Linked DNA regions of Homo sapiens: region 2 is linked to region 1. Evidence: promoter capture Hi-C in 16 types of primary human blood cells and fetal thymus (Javierre and others, 2016). All regions are on one chromosome and are shown on one strand. Each heading gives the region's core, a stretch centred on a gene start or on the middle of the fragment in contact. The rest is flanking DNA. Distances are from core to core; before and after follow the strand shown.

Evidence for each region. The method cuts DNA at HindIII sites, captures the fragments that hold promoters and counts their contacts. A CHiCAGO score of 5 or more calls a contact.
Region 2: a contact is called between a fragment that was not itself captured here and the fragment with the promoter of KCNIP2-AS1 in region 1, in 1 of 17 cell types (monocytes). The highest score is 5.1, in monocytes.

The regions. Positions count from the first base shown.
Region 1 is chr10:101,817,432-101,820,960 of GRCh38, reverse strand. KCNIP2-AS1 (KCNIP2 antisense RNA 1) reads right to left here and starts at 1,893. Exons shown (of 3, transcript NR_045118.1): 1 at 1,713-1,893. It overlaps OGA (O-GlcNAcase), which reads left to right and starts at 2,517. Exons shown (of 16, transcript NM_012215.5): 1 at 2,517-3,137. The coding sequence starts at 2,939. RefSeq lists enhancers at 2,488-2,607, 2,409-2,984 and silencers at 2,758-2,817, 2,898-2,957. The HindIII fragment of the contact is 3,022 bases long and covers 1-2,438 here.
Region 2 is chr10:103,396,903-103,400,431 of GRCh38, reverse strand. PDCD11 (programmed cell death 11) reads right to left here. Exons shown (of 36, transcript NM_014976.2): 2 at 1,904-2,016; 3 at 1-35. The coding sequence starts at 2,005. Among named protein-coding and RNA genes, the nearest start is that of PDCD11, 2.0 kb to the right of the region's middle. RefSeq lists enhancers at 2,320-2,820, 2,821-3,322. The HindIII fragment of the contact is 484 bases long and covers 1,988-2,471 here.

The sequences.
Region 1 (3,529 bases), core at 644-3,143:
GCCACTGAGCCCGGCTGATTCTGTCATTTTAATGCCTCGCTGGGCCTATTTATTTATTTTTAATTTTTAAAGATTTATTTATTTTTTAATTTTTTTTTTTTTAGAGGCAGGGTCTTGTTCTGTGGCTCAGGCTGGAGTGCAGTGGTGAGATCCTAGCACTACAGGTGCACACCACTACGCCTGGCTTTTTTTTTTTTTTTTTTTTTTTGTTTTTTTTTTGAGATGGAGTTTAGCTTTTGTTGCCCAGGTTGGAGTGCAATGGCACGATCTCGGCTCACGCAACCCGGGTTCAAGTGATTCTCCTGCCTCAGCCTCCCGAGTAGCTGGGATTACAGGCATCTGCCACCATGCCCAGCTAATTTTGTATTTTTAGTAGAAACGGGGTTTCTCCATGTTGGTCAGGCTGGTCTCGAACTCCCGACCTCAGGTGATCCATCTGCCTCGGCCTCCCAAAGTGCTGGGATTACAGGTGTGAGCCACCACGCCCGGCCTATTTTTATTTTTTTATAAAGACTGGGTCTGGCAATATTGCCCAGGCTGGTTGCAAACACCAACACTGCGCCCAGCCATCTGGGCCTGATAATTTAAAAGGACTCTCATTCCTCAGATAAAAGTTCTTTTCGGCCAGGTGAGGTGGCACGTGTCTGTAATCCCAGCACTTTGGGAGGCTGAGACTGGAGGATCACCTGAGCCCAAGAGTTTGAGACCAGCTTGGGCAAGATGTTGAGACCCCCGTCTCTACCAAAAATGAACAAATTAAAAGAGTGTGGTGGCGGGCACTCGCCTATAGTCCCAGCTACTCGGGATGGCTAAGGCGGGAAGATCCCTTGAGAGCCCAGGAATTCGATACTTAAGCTATGATTGCACTAGCCTGCGTGGCAAAATGAGACCTCTTCTCTTACAAAAAAAAAAAAAAAAAAAAAATTGTGTTCTCAACCCCAACGGACCACAATATCCAGTAAAGCTGCTATGGCCCCTAACTCTCAGCACAGGAGGTCCCTTAAGAAAATGCTTGTCCGGCCGGGCGCGGTGGCTCACACCTGTAATCCCAGCACTTTGGGAGGCCGAGGCAGGTGGATCACCTGAGGTCAGGAGTTCAAGACTAGCCTAGTCAACGTGGCGAAACCCCGTCTCTATTAAAAACACAAAATTAGCCGGGTGTGGTGGCGGGTGCCTGTAGTCTCAGCTACTCGAGAGGTTGAGGCAGGAGAATAGCCTGAGCCCAGGAGGTGAAGGCTGCAGTGAGCCGAGATTGCGCCACTGCGCTCCTGCGCTCCAGCCTGGGCGACAGAGTGAAACTCTGTCTCAAAAAAAAAAAAAAAGTTTGCTCCTAACCCCCATCTCAACAATCCAGGACTGAAAAGAAGAGGGACCATGAAAGTCCCTGAAACTACAAGTTGGGCTACGGCTAAAGAAGGTAAATATCAGACTGAAGTGTAAGATGGACATTACTAAGTCTTAATCATCATTTCATGTTTATACCTCACAGGTTGAGATAGATTTCTCAAGCATCATAAATGTAAAGTGCATTAGGGTAGGTCTACAAGAGAGCTCTGAGAACATACAGCAAGGAGACCCAAACCCATCTAGGGCTCAGGGAAGGCTTCCCAAGGAAGCGATGCCCATGCCGAGGCCGAAGGGATCTCATGCCCCACTGCACACACCGCGCGCTCCCCATTCCCAAACAAGGCAGGCTTTTCATGCCTCCCTACCTTTGGACTCTGTTGTTCGTTCCACTTTCCTGGAGTGCTGTCTTCCCTCCCCTTCTGCTCAGTCAGGCTAACTTCACATCCTTTATAATCCAGCTGAAAAGTGAAGCCATGCCCACGGCCTCTCCCCAAAGGAGGAGTGAGTATCACCTGTTCTGAGCTCCGAAGTTCTTGGGGACACCTTGTGGGAACTGCGTGTGTGGTGGCTTGTCTCCACCACCGTACTGTGAGCTCATAGTGTTCTAGAGCCCAGCACGAGGCAAGCTCTATAGATGTCTACTGAATGAAGGAATGAACGAATGATTACATTTTAAATGGGATTAGGGGAAAATGATTCAAGGCAGAGGGGTGAGCTGAGCTCCTTGGAATGGTGTCTTTACCGAACCAAGCCTGGGTTAGGCAGATGTAATGAGCCCACCTATTACAAGAATCTCCATAGAAAGTAGGTCAGTTCTTTCCTATCTCTTTAAGAACGAGAGGCCGCGGCTCCGCGCCTGCGCACTGAGAGAATAAACACCTCTCCTTTTCACCTTCCCCCCTTCTCCCTATTGCCCCAACCGGCGGCAGCCTCCTCCCATACTCCCCTCCTTCGGGGCGGGTAATGGTCCGTCCGTCCCAGGGTGCCAGGCTTGTTTCGGAGGGTGGCAAGCAGAAATGGTACATTCCACTGCCTTCATTACCTTCTGCTTTTCGCGTCTCCTGTTCTATTTCCCCCTACCTAAAGAAGCTTAATAGGCTAGCCCCAAAGAAGGCGGGGGAGCCGGGCGGAGGGGACCGGTCTGAGCCGGTCTGCAGCGCAAGCGCAGTGCGGATAAACAGGAAGCGGGCGGTGGAGGCAGCAGCAGAGGGAGAGCTCGGGGCTTGGAGGGGAAACAGCGGAAGACCTAAGATTATCGGGAGGGCAGCAGAGGCAGAGAACGAGGACAGGACCCTTGGCCGTCTTCTTCCAGGGAACGAGAGGTCACAGCCTCGCTCTCCGCTTAGGCTTCTGGCGCCCCAGCTTAAAGCCGAGGCTGCGGCTGACAAAGGGCTCGCGCCGGTGCCGCCGCCCTTCTCATCCGGGCATTCGGGTCCCTGCGGAGAGGGAGGGGGAAGGGCAGAGGGGGAGGGGAAGGAGCCGGAGGGGCGCACACTTGGAGCTGAAGCCCTCTCCAGGGCTCCGGGCCGGTGCCCCAACGGACAGAGGTCGAGGAGGACCCGCAGAGGTGGCAGCGGCCGGGGGCAGGAGGATGGTGCAGAAGGAGAGTCAAGCGACGTTGGAGGAGCGGGAGAGCGAGCTCAGCTCCAACCCTGCCGCCTCTGCGGGGGCATCGCTGGAGCCGCCGGCAGCTCCGGCACCCGGAGAAGACAACCCCGCCGGGGCTGGGGGAGCGGCGGTGGCCGGGGCTGCAGGAGGGGCTCGGCGGTTCCTCTGCGGTGTGGTGGAAGGTGAGCGCCCTCCTTCCCTCCCCGTTTTGGCACTAACACGTTCTGTCCTCGGGAGGAGGGTGGTGGCGGGGATTTTGGAGACTCTAAAAGGCCGGAAAGCCTCTGGGTCTGAAATGTGGCCCTCCTAAAGCGAGGGGAGAGACGAGATGTTGGGCGAATCTCCTTGCACGTCTTAAGACGGCGTCGAATTCCCCCCTGGCCACTCACAAGTCTGACCCCACCCGTCTTGGGCTTGGAGCCAGGCCACCTCCTAAGGAGGCGGTGGTTAAGAGCCTGGTGTTCTGTTAGCCTCTGAGTTCTACTTCTTTGTACCTTGGGATCTTATTCCCTAGGGTTGTCTGGTTCCAGTGAAAAAATATGTGTAGTGCTTCTGTCACCACCCTTTGTGGAAA
Region 2 (3,529 bases), core at 980-3,479, 1.6 Mb before region 1:
TTTTTTCTTTTGGTGGATCCCTCTTCAGTAGAAATCTAGAAGCGGGTAGGGGGAGCCCACAAAGACCCAAAAGAATAAGAAGCAATCTGAGTTTTCCCTCCTATTTCAGGTCATCACTCACCTTGCTTTGTTACTCCTTCACTCCACCCTACCCCATCCCACTCCCAATTGTTCCTTTAATTCTTGCTTAAAAAAAAAAAAAAAAGGGGGGGGGCCGCCAATGTTCCCTCTGCCCAAGGTCTGAGAAGCCTCCTTCATGTTCCCAAAGTCTCTTCTCTCTTGTGTTCTCCCTCTCTTGACTGGGATGAACACTGGGTTCCCCAGTTTGAGAAGCAATGTAGAATAGTGCATGAAAATGGACACCAGAGTTACACAGACCCAAGTTAAATTCTCATCTTTTCCACCATAACAAGCTATGTGGTTTCAGCTAAATTATATAAAATCCAGGCACAGTGGCTCACACCAGTAATCCCAACACTTTGGGAGGCCAAGGCGGGAAGATCACTTGAGATTAGGAGTTCAAGACCAGCCTGGCCAACAGGCTGTATTTTTTTTTCCACTAAAAATACAAAAAAATTAAGCCGAGCATGGCAGCACGCACCTATAGTCCCAGGTACTCGGGAGGCTGATACAGGAGAATTGCTTGAACCAAGAAGTGGAGGTTGCAGTGAGCTGAGATCACAACACTGCACTTCAGCCTGGGCGACAGAGCAAGACACTGTTCCTCATCATGGAATTGCAATCAGTGCTTCACAGTACAGTTGAAAAGATTACATAATACAGACCTAAAGCCACACACTCAAATGTTAGTTCCCTTTCCCCAAGCATTTGGAGCACAGCCTAGTCTAGGTGAGACTGTGAAGTCTAATGCAAATTCTGACCATTACATGTGGCAAGGAACCCCTGTAAAAATGCAATGATCAGTCAGACACAGTGGAACATGCCTGTTGTTCCAGTTACTCAGGAGGCTAAGGAGGGAGGATCGACTGAGCCCAGGAGTTTAAGTCCAGCCTGAGTAACAGAGTGAAACATCATCTCTCCCCATCTCTTGAAAAAACAACAACAAAAATAACAAAAACATCAGCTGGGTGCAGTGGCTCACACCTGCCATCCCAGCACTTTGGGAGGTCAAGGTGAGCAGATCATCTGAGGTCAGGAGTTTCAGACCAGCCTGGCCAACATGGTGAAACCCCATCTCTAACAAAAATACAAAAATTAGTCAGGTATGGTAGCAGGCACCTGTAATCCCAGCTACTCACGCCACTGCACTTCAGCATGGGCAACAGAGTAAGACTTCGTCTCAAAAAAAAAAAAAAAAAAAAAACTGCTTCCTCTCCATCCTTAATCAACATGGCACATGGCAAAGAGTGTCTAAGAACAAGGAACAGCACTTTATTTATTTTGTTTGTGTGTTTTTTGAGACAGAGTCTCACTCTGTCGCCCAGGCAGGAGAGCAGTGGCACAATATTGGGTCAGTGCAACCTCCACCTTCTTGGTTCAAGCAATTCTCATGCCTCAGCCTCCCAAGTAGCTAGGACTACAGGTATACTACCATGCCCAGCTAGTTTTGGTATTAGTATAGACGGGGTTTCACCATGTTGGCCAGGCTGCTCTTGAATTCCTAGCCTCAAGTGATCCGCCTGCCTCGGCTTCCCAAACTGCTGGGATTACAGGCATGAGCCACTACGCCCAGCTAATAACAGTACTTTAATACTAAATGCCAAGCTTCAAAAGATACAGCCTTGTGGTGGTATGGCCTCTCTAAATGAGTTAAATTTATAGAAGTAGACTTCAATGCAAAAAAAATCTGGAAAAATAACACATTCTCAAATAAGGCTCATTTTTCACAAGACACTACAGTAAAAGTTTCCAGTGAGTGTCACCAAACAAGCATACTACTTACATCAAATAAGTTGTCTTGTTCAACTGACTGCTGGAAAGCTTTCTCTGGTTTGTGGATCTTTCTTGTACCTCCTCGGGGGAAGCTTTCTTCCAGGTTTGCCATGTTTGGGTCTCCTAAAAACAATGCAAAGGATAATGGTGACATGTTGTCTTGGTAGCAGATTTCAGAAAGGTGTTATCAACGGGCAAGAGACAGAACGTTCCAGCAATATGCTAGACAACATTCAGGACTACAACATAGATGGTTTAGATGTCAGGCCCGGAATAATCCATACTTCATCTTTCCAAAGGTCTCTGCTTCAAAACCACAAGTCCACCCACCTTCTTCCAGAAAAAGAAGTTATAGATTCAATGTAGCACATACTCACTAAGAAGCTACAGTTAAGTCAGAGATACACTGTAGCTCTACAGATGAATATATAATCCTCTGCCTTCAAAGAACATGCACACTTTTTGGAAGATAAAACAATTATGCAAGTAACTTAAAATGCAAATCAGATTATAAATGATCACAAAGATGTAGGAAGGGATAAGGCAATGTAGGAAGGGATAAGTAAAGGAGGCAAGCTTCATAAAGAAGATCTTTTTTAGCTTAAGGGTAAAAGATGAACAGAAGCTTGACAGGTAGAAAGGGAATGTGAGAAAAGACATGGATGGGAAAAGCCTATTATTTCAATAAACACCAGCAATTTCCCTATCAAACAACTGCTCAAAGGCTTGCTGTTGTCTCTGAGGAATTATTCAACTAGACCACTGGGAGATTAAAGCATAAAAATTGAAGTTAAATTTTAAAGAAGGCCGGGCACCATGGCTCACACCTGTAATGCCAGCACTTCGGGAGCCCGAGGCGCGTGGATCATCTGAGGTCAGGAGTTCGAGACCAGCATAGTCAACATGGCGAAACCCCGTCTCTACCAAAAACGCAAAAATTAGCCGGGCGTGGTGGCCTGCGCCTAGTCCCAGCTACTAGGCAGGCTGAAGCGTGAGAATTGCTTGAGGCCGGGAGGCGGAGGTTGCAGTGAGCTGAGATCATGCCGCCGCACTCCAACCTGGGAGACAAAGTGAGACTCTGTCTCAAAAAAATTAAAGGAGAAGTTGGGCTTTTTTGTGGAAGACCTTGAATTAGATATGGGTAGTTTGCTTTGGCAAGTCAGAGACTTAAGCAGGGAAAGCGAGAGAACAGTAAGCAAGAAAAATATACTGCAGGCTATAGATTGGACATGAAGAGAGACAGTATTGAAGGCAAGTAAATTCGGTAGAAGGATTCAAATGCACTGTTTCCTGTTATCTCAGTGACAGAAAAAAAAAAAAAAAAAAAGGATTCAAATGCAGTACAGCAGAGAAACCATGAGAACCAGAACTGGGTATAAGTGAAAACAGAAGACAGGAGAGGTTAGTTCTGACAGACACTTGGTAATAAGACTCTACAAGGGCTTTAGACTAAAGAAGTGATGACCGGGTGGGGCCAAGGATATGGAATCAGGGATGGGTATATGATTCATAGAAACAGGAAAGTTTGGGGGGTCTAGTTTGCTGATAATTTCACCCTTAATTTCCTTTCAAGCAAGGGGAAACTGAGGCTCTGAAAAGTAAGGCGATCCAGGGGCACAGAAGATACTTAGGCTAC